Regions from separate parts of the Homo sapiens genome. Here region 2 is linked to region 1. Evidence: promoter capture Hi-C in human tissues and cell types (Jung and others, 2019). All regions are on one chromosome and are shown on one strand. The core of a region is centred on a gene start or on the middle of the fragment in contact, and the rest is flanking DNA. Distances in the headings are between cores, read along the strand shown.

Region 1 (5,104 bases), core at 1,943-4,442:
CACCCCTCCATTCCACAGGTGAGAGGACCAAGGCGCAGAGAGGTTACGGAACTTGCCCACATCATCCAGCACCAACTCTGGCTCCCAGGTCGCCTCTCCAAGAGTGGCCCTGACTCTGAGCTCCTCCGCCCCACCCTCATGTTGCCATGGTAACCCAGTGGCTTATCAAAAAGAGAAGGAGAGAGGAAGAGAGGTGTCCTGGGAACCTCCACCCTCCCAGACCCCTCTGCCACCAGCCTCATTTCTTCCAGGGGCTTCCATTTGCTTGAAAAGTTCTTCTGAGAGTCTAACCCACAGCCTGTCCCCAACTCACACCTACATACCCATGGGCTGGGAGCTGGCTCCTCTGGGGGAGGGAGGCAGCGTGTTGGCAGAACTTCCCAAGAAGGAGAGAGCAAGCGAGGAGCATGCCTGTGTGCGTGTGTGTGTGTGTGTGTGTGTGTGTGTGTGTGTGCAGGCAAGGGTGGGGGAGAGGGGTGATTCTTAAAGGGCCACCGCACAATTAGCCCCCTCAGCAAGGCCCCTAATGATACGTCTAATTAGCAGCCCCCTAATTAGCAACAACTTAGGCATAATTACAAACCCACCAGGATCCAAAGCAAAGGCTCATGCTCCCTTCTCCCTCCGCCTCCCTGGCTTTCAGGAGAAACAGGGGCCAGCCGGGAGTCAGGAATTCTTCTAAAGCATCAAACCAAACCCCGCTCTCTCTGGGAGGAAGCCTCGGCCTGGGAAGTCCTCCCTCAGGTTTAACCACCTGTCCTTCCTGCTGCAGTCCTCAAGAGAGACCACAGCCAGGTGATGCGGGTTCTCATGTCCACCCTCCTAGCCCAGGGGCTGGGTCAAGCACAGCCTAGTGCAATCCCTTTTTCCTGCAAAACCTGGTTTCTCGCTGGGGCCTTGCGAGAGGAGCAGTCAGGGAGAGAAAGCACTAGATAAATATTTGTGAAATGAATGACCAAGAGGTCTGAGCCCTGTCACCAGGGACCGTGGGCTCCCTCTGCTCCTGGCTCCTGCCTCTCCCTCTCCATCCACCAGCAGCCCTGAAACCCAATCTGCTTTTAGAATCCAGGGGCAAAAGGATCAGGTGGAGCCCAGGGTGGGAGCGGGGAGGGCAGATGGCAGGTACCGTCTCCCAGGGCCATCTCTCCCTCCCTTCGTGGGCGTGCGGCCAGCTGGGTCGGCAGTGAGCACCCCTGTTCTGCCTCACGTGCCTCTTAGGTCCTTGATCAGAAGAACAGGACTGCATGCCTGGGGGTGGGTGCAGTCTGGCGTGCCAGGTAAGACCCGTCCTTCATATCCCTCACGCTACCACCCCACAGTGGGGCGGCAAGGGAGGGTGCTTTTCTGACTGTGCCTGTGTTGGGGGGCTGGCCCTTGCAGGACCGAGCTGGGGACTCAGACTTCTAAACATGCACATTTACTGCCCCAGCATGAGCGCAGGCGCTCCCATCACCTCAAAATGGTCCAGTGTGGGGATCACACCACAGAGCTTGGGTGCTCGAGGCTGTGATACACTGATAATACGTAAACTGAGGCCCAGAGGAGGAACAGGGCTCTTAACCTAGTGCTCTTTAAAGCCATCTGAAGCCCCCTCCGTGGGCACTGTCACACAGGGCTGGGACCTCACCTGCAGCCAGGGAGACATCATACACACACACACACACACACACACACACACACACACACACCAGGGCTACAGGCACAGCCTCGTACCTTTTCGCCATCACTCACTCTCTTGCCCACCTTCTCCAGGGCCCCCTTCTCTCAAGGAAGGCAGACAGTGTGTTGGCCAGGGCCCTCTCAGCACCCCCCACTGAGACAGTGTGAGGCTGGCACACCAGGAAAGGGATGGAAGTGAGACTGCAGGAAGGACTGGCCCGGTCTAACTCAGTACCTAGTGCTTGCCCAGAGCAGGAAAGGCGCTCAGTAATTATCAACAAGAATGAATGAATCAAGAGCTGGACAAACAGCAAGAGGTATGGAAGTGAGACGGCAGGAAGGACTGGTCCAGTTACACGAGGAAGACTGGGGAGGTTAGATTGAAGGGAGGTCTGGTCTCATCTCTACTACAGAGGCTACCGGTTAAACTGCAAGAAGGACCGGCCTCAGAACGCCAGAAACAAGGCAGGGGGAGGTGGGCTCGGTCCTCAGGGGAGAGCTGGGGTGGGTGCCGGCTGGGAGGAGTGGAGAGAGCAGGGGAGCTCTGCTGAAGTGGGGAGAGGAGTTTAGAGGACTCCAGGCCTGGGGGAGCCCACTCTGCGGGTGGGGGGGTCTAATTCCTCCAGGTCCCCCCTGCCAGGGGCGGAGACAAAGGTGTGTGGGAGGAGGGTGCACTGGCTCCCAGGGAGAGCCAGAGAAGAGGAAAGAGAGAGAGAAACAGAGACTGAGATATCCAGAGACAGAGATGGAGACGAGGGGGAGATGGGGAGGGAGGGAGAGAGAGAGAGAGAGAGAGAGACATGCGGACATGGGAAGAGACAGAGACACAGAGAAAGCAGAGACAGAGAGAGACACAGGAAAGCTGAGACAAGGGAGAGAGGCAGAGACACAGAGACACAGAGAAACAGAGATGGCGCAAGAGGAAAGGAGAGAGAAACCCAGGACTTAGAGACAGAGCCCCAGAGAGACTCCGAACAGACCCCGGCACAGAGACACAGAGAGAGGGAGACAGGAGTGAGAGACTGAGAGACAGGGACTCCCAGAGGCGGCCAGACTCTGCTAGACAGAGACCCCTGAGACATGTGGAGAGACAGAAAGATGAGACCCAGACACAGGAAGGCGGGGGCAGAGGTAGAGAGCGCGAGGGGGGGTGCCCCAGACGGGGTGGGGGCGGGGTGTCCTCGCCCCCCAGTACCCAGGCGGTCCCCCTCCCCAGCCGCCCGAGAACCAGGAGGGACTGAAGGTGTTGGGGCGGCTGGTGGCACTCCCACCCCACAGAAGGTACGCGTGCTGGGCCAGGCAGCCCCCCACCTCCATAAACCAGCCCAGGGAAGCCAGCTCCAGGCTTCCCGAACCGCCCCCACTCCGCACCTGGGGTAACCCCGTCCTTTTCCCACGCCCCCACCTCCCCACCAATGGGGTCTCTTACCTGCGGCTACAGCCTGGAGCAGGTCCCCCCAGCGCTGGGCTGGCAGTGGTGGGCGACTCCGCCCGAAAGAGAGAGAGAGATTGAGAGAGAGAAAAGCCTGAGACTGAGAGGGAGAGCCGGGGAGGAGGGGAGGGAGAGGGGATAGAGGGAGGAGAAGAGGAGAGGGGAGGGACACGGGGGAGGGGGAGGCGGCGAGGGAGCGAGGGAGGGGGAGGAGCCGGAGAGAGGGGGAGGAGGCGGAGGCGGGCAGAGGGAAGGCGGTGCGGGAGGCGGGGGGAGGCCCGGGGAGGGGCCTGGGGGAGCAGGGAGCCCGAGCCTCCTCCCCAGCCTCCGGGTTCAGCACCAGAGGCAGGGGACAGCACCGGAGGGCGCTCCTGTGTGTTTCAGAAGCAGCCCCCGCCCCCCAACACACACACACACACACGCACACACACACACGCACGCAGTCTCCCAGCCATACAAGGGCCAACAGCTACAAATAGTTACAGACTTACAGAACTAGGGGGAGGGCAAGAATGTTTAGCTGGAGTCAGATCCAAATTCACATACTGTGCCTGCACAGCCTCACAAAGGAGGCCAGAAACAACCACAAAGACACCCATTAATAAGAATAACAACAGCTGCCATACATACAGGCAGCCCTGACCACGTGCCTGGCATCGGCAGCACATTATTATTATTTGAGACAGGGTCTCACTCTGTCACCCAGGCTGGAGTGCAGTGGCACGATCTTGGCTTACTGCAGCCTCAACCTCCTGGGCTCAAGCAATCCTCCTGCCTCAGCCTCCTGAGTAGCTGGGACTACAGGTGCCCGCCACCACCACGCCAGGCTTTTTCCCTCCATTTTTTTTTTTTAGGAGATGGGATCTCACCATGTTACCCAGGCTGGTCTCCAACTCCTGGGCTCAAGCGATCCTTCTGCCTTGGCCTCCCGAGTAGCTGGGACTACAGGTGCCCACCACCACCACGCCAGGCTTTTTTTCTCTTCATTTTTTTTAAGAGACGGGGTCTCACTATTTTACCTAGGCTAGTCTCCAACTCCCGGGCTTAAGCAATCCTTCTGCCTCGGCCTCCCAAAGCGCTGAGATTACAGGTGAGAGCCACCGCACAGGTGAGAGCCACCGCACCTGGCATGTTCTAATGTTTTTTATAAATTTAGGTAAATGCTATTATGAGCTTCACTTACAGACAGGGAAACCAAGGCATGAGGTGGTAAATATGGCTCCAGATTCTACACCCTTAACTGCTGCACCGCACAATTCCCCAGGCTGAGGACGGGTCAGGTCAAGAAGAGACTTGCAGGCTGGGTGCGGTGGCTCACGCCTGTAATCCCAGCACTTTAGGAGGCTGAGGCGAGCAGATCACTTGACGTCAGGAGTTGGAGACCAGCCTGGCCAACATGGCGAAACCCTGTCTCTTCTAAAAATACAAAAATTAGCCAGGCCAGGTGGCACACGCCTGTAATCCCAGCTACTTGGGAGGCTGAGGCAGGAGAAATCGCTTGAACCTGGGAGGTGGAGGCTGCAGTGAGCTGAGATCATGCCACCGCACTCTAGCCTGGGTGACAGAGTGAGACTCCATCTCCAAAAAAAAAAAAAAAAAAGAAAGAAATGAACTGCAAAGGGCCAGGCAGGTGGCCTGGGCTCCTGAAGACACAAACTCATGCACCCTGCGATGGGCCCACACACATACCCCCACGCAAGCACACACCTCTGCAAGGCACACCAGCACTACACCCACCCCCAATCCTGCTCCCCCCCACAACAGGGGGTGATGGCGTGTTAGTCGGTGTGGAGTGCTCCTTCTCTAGAGGCGGACAGTGGGAGGGAGGGGGCCTTGCTCGTGCCACCGGTCCTGCCCACTGCCAGTCCTGGCTGGACACCGTCAGGCCTGCTGGCCAGGGGAGGGAGAGGATCCGGCTTCCTCCAACTTCCCACGCCTGGGCCTGGCTTCTGGGAAAGAGGGTGAAGACAGGGGTGGCCAGGAGTTGCTGAGCTCCTAACTCCCATAAACGCT
Region 2 (4,905 bases), core at 1,176-3,675, 190 kb after region 1:
CTACTAAAAATACAAAAAAAATGAGCTGGGCTTGGTGGCGGGCACCTGTAATCCCAGCTACTCGGGAGGCTGAGGCAGGAGAATCCCTTGAACCTGGGAGGTGGAGGTTGCAGTGAGCCGAGATCGCTGCACTGCACTCCAGTCTGGGTGACAGAGCGAGACTCCATCTCAAAAAAAAAATAAAAATAAAAATAAAAATAAAAACGTCCCCAGTTTAGTGCTGAAGTGCCGTCTAATGTTTCTAAGCTCAAGAAAGCTATAATGTGAGGCTGGGCATGGTAGCTCACGCCTGTAACCCCAGCACTTTGGGAGGCCAAGGTGGGAGAATCGCTTGAACCCAGGAGGTCGAGACCAGCCTGGGGAACATGGTGAGATCCTGTCTCGACACACACACACACACACACACACACACACACACACACACACTCTGAATAAATAAGTAAATTTTAGAATTAGCCAAGCGTGATGGCGCACACCTAAGGAGGACCACATGAGCCTGGAAGGTCAAGGCTGCCATGAGTTCTTTTCACACCACTGCACCCCAGCCTGGGCAACAGTGAGACCCTGTCTCAAAAAAACAACGAGAAGGCTGTGACGTGCCTTTCAGAGAAAATACACGTATTAGAGAAACTGCATTCAGGCACAAGTTAGGGTGCTGCTGACGTGAGGCTCAGTGTTAATGAATCAAAACTATACATTAAATAAGGTGTCTTCGAACAGAAACACACATAAGCCAAGGTTTTATATTGGTTGGTGAAAGCATTGTGGCCAGAGGCTTTCAGGAACCTAACTTTGTATTTCCCCCAGGAGACATGGTTAATGTCTAAGTATTTGCTAATCCAATGTTCACAGTCACTTTTTAGATTCTGTAATATATAGAACACAGCCACCTGGAATAACGATCAATTGCACAGGGGTTTTTTTTCTACATGCTAGGGGTGCTTTACTGGGTTCTAATTTATGTGCAGTAAAATGCACAAAACTGAAGCGCGCAGCTTGATGTTTTCTGACAAATATTACCTGTGTAAGCATCACTCAGCTCTAGCTAGAGAACACGTCCATCATCTGAGCAGGCTCCCTTATAGCCTTTCCCAGTCATTCCTGCATCCCTCCCTTGAAGCGGCCACACGTCTGATATTTTTCCCCCACTATAAATCAGTTCTGGATATTGTAGATTTGTTTGGTTTTTTTTTTAAGATGGAGTCTTGCTCTGTCGCCCAGGCTGGAGTGCAGTGTGGCGATCTCGGCTCACTGCAACCTCCACCTCCCGGGTTCAAGAAATTCTCCTGCCTCAGCCTCCCGAGTAGCTGGGACTACAGGTGCCCACCACCACGCCCAGCTAATTTTTTGTATTTTTAGTAGAGACAGGGTTTCACTGTGTTAGCCAGGATGGTCTCGATCTCCCAACCTAGTGATCTGCCTGCCTTGGCCTCCCAAAGTGCTGGGATTACAGGCGTGAGCCACTGCGCCGGGCCCATGTTCTAGATCTTTACACAAATGGACTCACACAGTGTGTAGACTTTTGTGCCAGGCTTCCTTTGCTCAGCATGATCCATTTAAGACCCATTTGTATTGTTGCTGTAGAAGTCCTTCATTCCCTTTTACTGCCAAACTGTATTCTGTCGTGTGGATGTAACAGTGTATTCATTTACCTGTTGATGGCTTTCTGTGCCATTTACAGTTAGGGGCTTTTATGAATAAGGCTGCTGTGAAATTTTTTTTTTTTTTTGAGACGGAGTCTTGCTCTGTCGCCCAGGCTGGAGTGCAGTGGCATGATTTCGGCTCACTGCAAGCTCCGCCTCACAGGTTCATGGCATTCTCCTGCCTCAGCCTCCCAAGTAGCTGGGACTACAGGTACCCACCACCACTCCCGGCTAATATTTTGTATTTTTAGTAAAGACGGAGTTTCACTGTGTTAGCCAGGATGGTCTCGATCTCCTGACCTTGTGATCCGCCCACCTCGGCCTCCCAAAGTGCTGGGATTACAGGCATGAGCCACCATGCCCGGCTGCTGTGAAAATTTTTGTACAGGTGCTTTTGTGGACATACTTTTCACCTCCCTTGAGTAAATACCTTGGCGTGACATTGTTGGGTCATAGAGTTGGTATATATTTAACTTTACTTAATCCAGGCTTTAATTCTCTTCTGGGACAAGATGTCTAGGAGAAGGCCATTCCAGGGATGTTTGGCAGCTGAGGATTGTCAGGCCAGTAGGTCAGTGTCCCTCTTATACTCTCTCTCTCTCGTTTTTTTTTTCCCTGAGTCTGTTTTGCTAGGGAACCTCTGATTCTCTTGACCTTCCCCTCAGGAATGCATAATGGCTGCTGCGGCACCAGTCATTGTCATTATATTCATAGCAGTCTTTCAAGCAAAAAGGAGAGGGAGCAAACAGTCTTCCCAAGACAAGATTCTGCCTCTTTAGCCAAATGTGAAAACTTTCCCATATCCATTCTGAGCTGCAAGGGAGTCTGAGGAAGAAAGTTTCTGGCCAAGGAGCAGGGGTCTGCACTCACTATGGTCTGTCCTCTGTTGACCAGGATGTTGGGGCTGGAAGTGTTTGTCAGACCCTGGGCAACTTCTAAATTAGCCTTCCTGAGCCTCAGAGAAGACTCGGTGGGACCACTTGGTCAGGGGCCTGGACCTTGACCAGGAACTGGTGGCTTGTGTTTGATACAAGAACAAGAACCCCAGAAGGAAAACTAAAGAGACAGAAGCTTCTAGGCCGGGCATGGTGGCTCATGCCTGTAATCCCAACACTTTGGGAGGCTGAGGTGGGCAGATGACTTGAGGTCAGGAGTTCGCCAGGCGTGGTGGCGAGTGCCTATAATCCCAGTTACTCCTGAGGCTAAGGCGGGAGGATTGCTTGAACCGGGGAGGCAGAGTTTGCAGTGAGCTGAAATCATGCCACTGCGCTCCAGCCTGGGTGACAGAATGAGACTTCGTCTCAAAAAAAAAAAAAAAAAAAAAAGCAGCAGCAGCTTCTAGAACAGTGGTTCGCAGAGTGTGGTCTGTGCCAGCAGCATCAGCATCACCTGGGAACTCATTAGAAATGCAGAGTCTCAGGCCGCACCGGGACCTGCCGATTCCCAGATTCTCAAATCTGTATTAGGAACCAGTGGTCTACAAACCCGTGCGCACGTCTTGGGGAACGTTTGTTTTCCCCTTTGCTTCCCTTAGCTGCATTTTTTTCCCCTGAATTCGAAGCCTGCTTCGTTGCCTGATGACGTGTGAGTCCCTGTGTCCGGTGAACATAATCATTTCTTTTGTATTTCCGCCACCCACCCCGAATGCCTGTACTTTACCCTCTCCCAGGGTTTTTCCTGTTTCTCATAAGCCAGCATTGAGAAAAATCCAAACCCTTTTGAGATACCTGGTTTTCTTGGCAAGACTGCAGCTTTATAGCTGTATTTAGAACAGCGTCGAATGGTGAAAAGGGAAAAGAGAAGATGCATAAAACATTTCTAGTTTGTAACTACCTGTATAAAATAGGCTTTTAAGAGCCAGACATCAGTCGCTTTATGAGCAATCTAAGCTTTATGGGGCCCACTTTATTTGGTTAAACTAATTCAATGATTTTAGAGATCTAAAGGTCACTAAAAATAAAGATGGTGTAGATTTTAATTGCTCTTCAAATTGCTCTTTCTCTGTCTTTCCCAACAGGGGTGGAGGTGGGTGAAGAATCAACATTTTTTTCCCTGTTTTCCTTTTCTAGCTTTAAAATAGACACATCATGCAAGCGGCTACATATCCAGGGCCCAGCCAGCTCTTACGGGGCTTTTTCATGCAATTGAAAATGGTGCTTTGTCCGAGAGGGCATGACTCTGTGGTGTGTCCTTTGTATGAATTGGGAAAGGGGACTCCTTTCTCCATGTGGATGCCACCCTTCTCTGGGGCTCATAGGTGTGAGCAGAACCTGGACTGGATTTGATGCCCCACTTGCCCCTTTGTCTGGATTCCTTTGTGCAGTGAACAACCTGTGCAGCTGTACATGGTGGTGCATACACACACACACACACACACACACACACACACACACACACACACACACGTTCTCTTCTCTTCTCTCTTTCTTTTTCTTTTTTGAGACAGGGTCTCCCTCTGTCACCCAGGCTGTGGTGCAGTGGCATGATCTTGGCTCACCACAGCCTTAGCCTCCCAGGCTCAAGCAATCCTCACACCTCAGCTTCCCAAGTAGCTGGGACCACAGGTGCACACTAGCATACCTGGCTAATTTGTAAAATTTTTTGTAGAGATGGGGTCTCACTGTGTTGCCCAGGCTACATATATATCTTCTATACTCTGTACGTATTGTATGCGTCTCTGTCTTAGAAACTTACATGTACATTAGTTTCCCATTGTCGCTGTAACAAATACCACAGATGCAGGATCTTAAAACAGAAAACTATTCTCGTATAGTTCCAGAGGCCCTAAGTCCAAAATGAGGGTGTTAGCAGGGCCACTGGGGTTGTCAGAGCTGTGCTCCCTCAGGAGGCTCTAGGGAAGAGCCTAGAGCCTTCTTCGCCTGGTCCAGCCCCCGGAGCTCTAGGTGGTCCTTGGCTCGTAGCCACGTGACATTAAGCTTTGCCTCCTTCTTCACATGGCCTTCTGTTCTTCTGTGACTTCTCCTTTGCTGTTAAGAGGACATTTATCATAGGATTTTGAGCCTACCCAGATAATCCAGGACAGTCTCATCTCAACATTGTTAATCTAATTATGTCTACAAAGACCCTTTTTTCCAAATAAGGATGGCCACATCCACAGGTTCTGGGATGTTTACATATTTTTTGTGGTGGGAGCCACCATTCAACTCACTACAAAGGCCTTGGAAATACATCCTAAGAGCTTAACTTCTAGGCGTCATAGCATGTTAAGTCCACGTACCAGGTGAACACATCACCTCATTTG

What was found. The method cuts DNA at HindIII sites, captures the fragments that hold promoters and counts their contacts. A contact is called where the count stands out against the background at its distance.
Region 2: a contact is called between a fragment that was not itself captured here and the fragment with the promoter of SLC8A2 in region 1, in 14 of the 25 tissues and cell types used here (IMR-90 fibroblasts, aorta, bladder and 11 more).

Annotation. Positions count from the first base shown.
Region 1 is chr19:47,468,701-47,473,804 of GRCh38, forward strand. SLC8A2 (solute carrier family 8 member A2) reads right to left here and starts at 3,193. Exons shown (of 10, transcript NM_015063.3): 1 at 3,089-3,193. RefSeq lists an enhancer at 1-243 and a silencer at 672-966. The HindIII fragment of the contact is 16,110 bases long and covers 1-5,104 here.
Region 2 is chr19:47,655,686-47,660,590 of GRCh38, forward strand. All of the region lies in intron 1 of BICRA (BRD4 interacting chromatin remodeling complex associated protein), which reads left to right. Among named protein-coding and RNA genes, the nearest start is that of BICRA, 49 kb to the left of the region's middle. The HindIII fragment of the contact is 3,259 bases long and covers 797-4,055 here.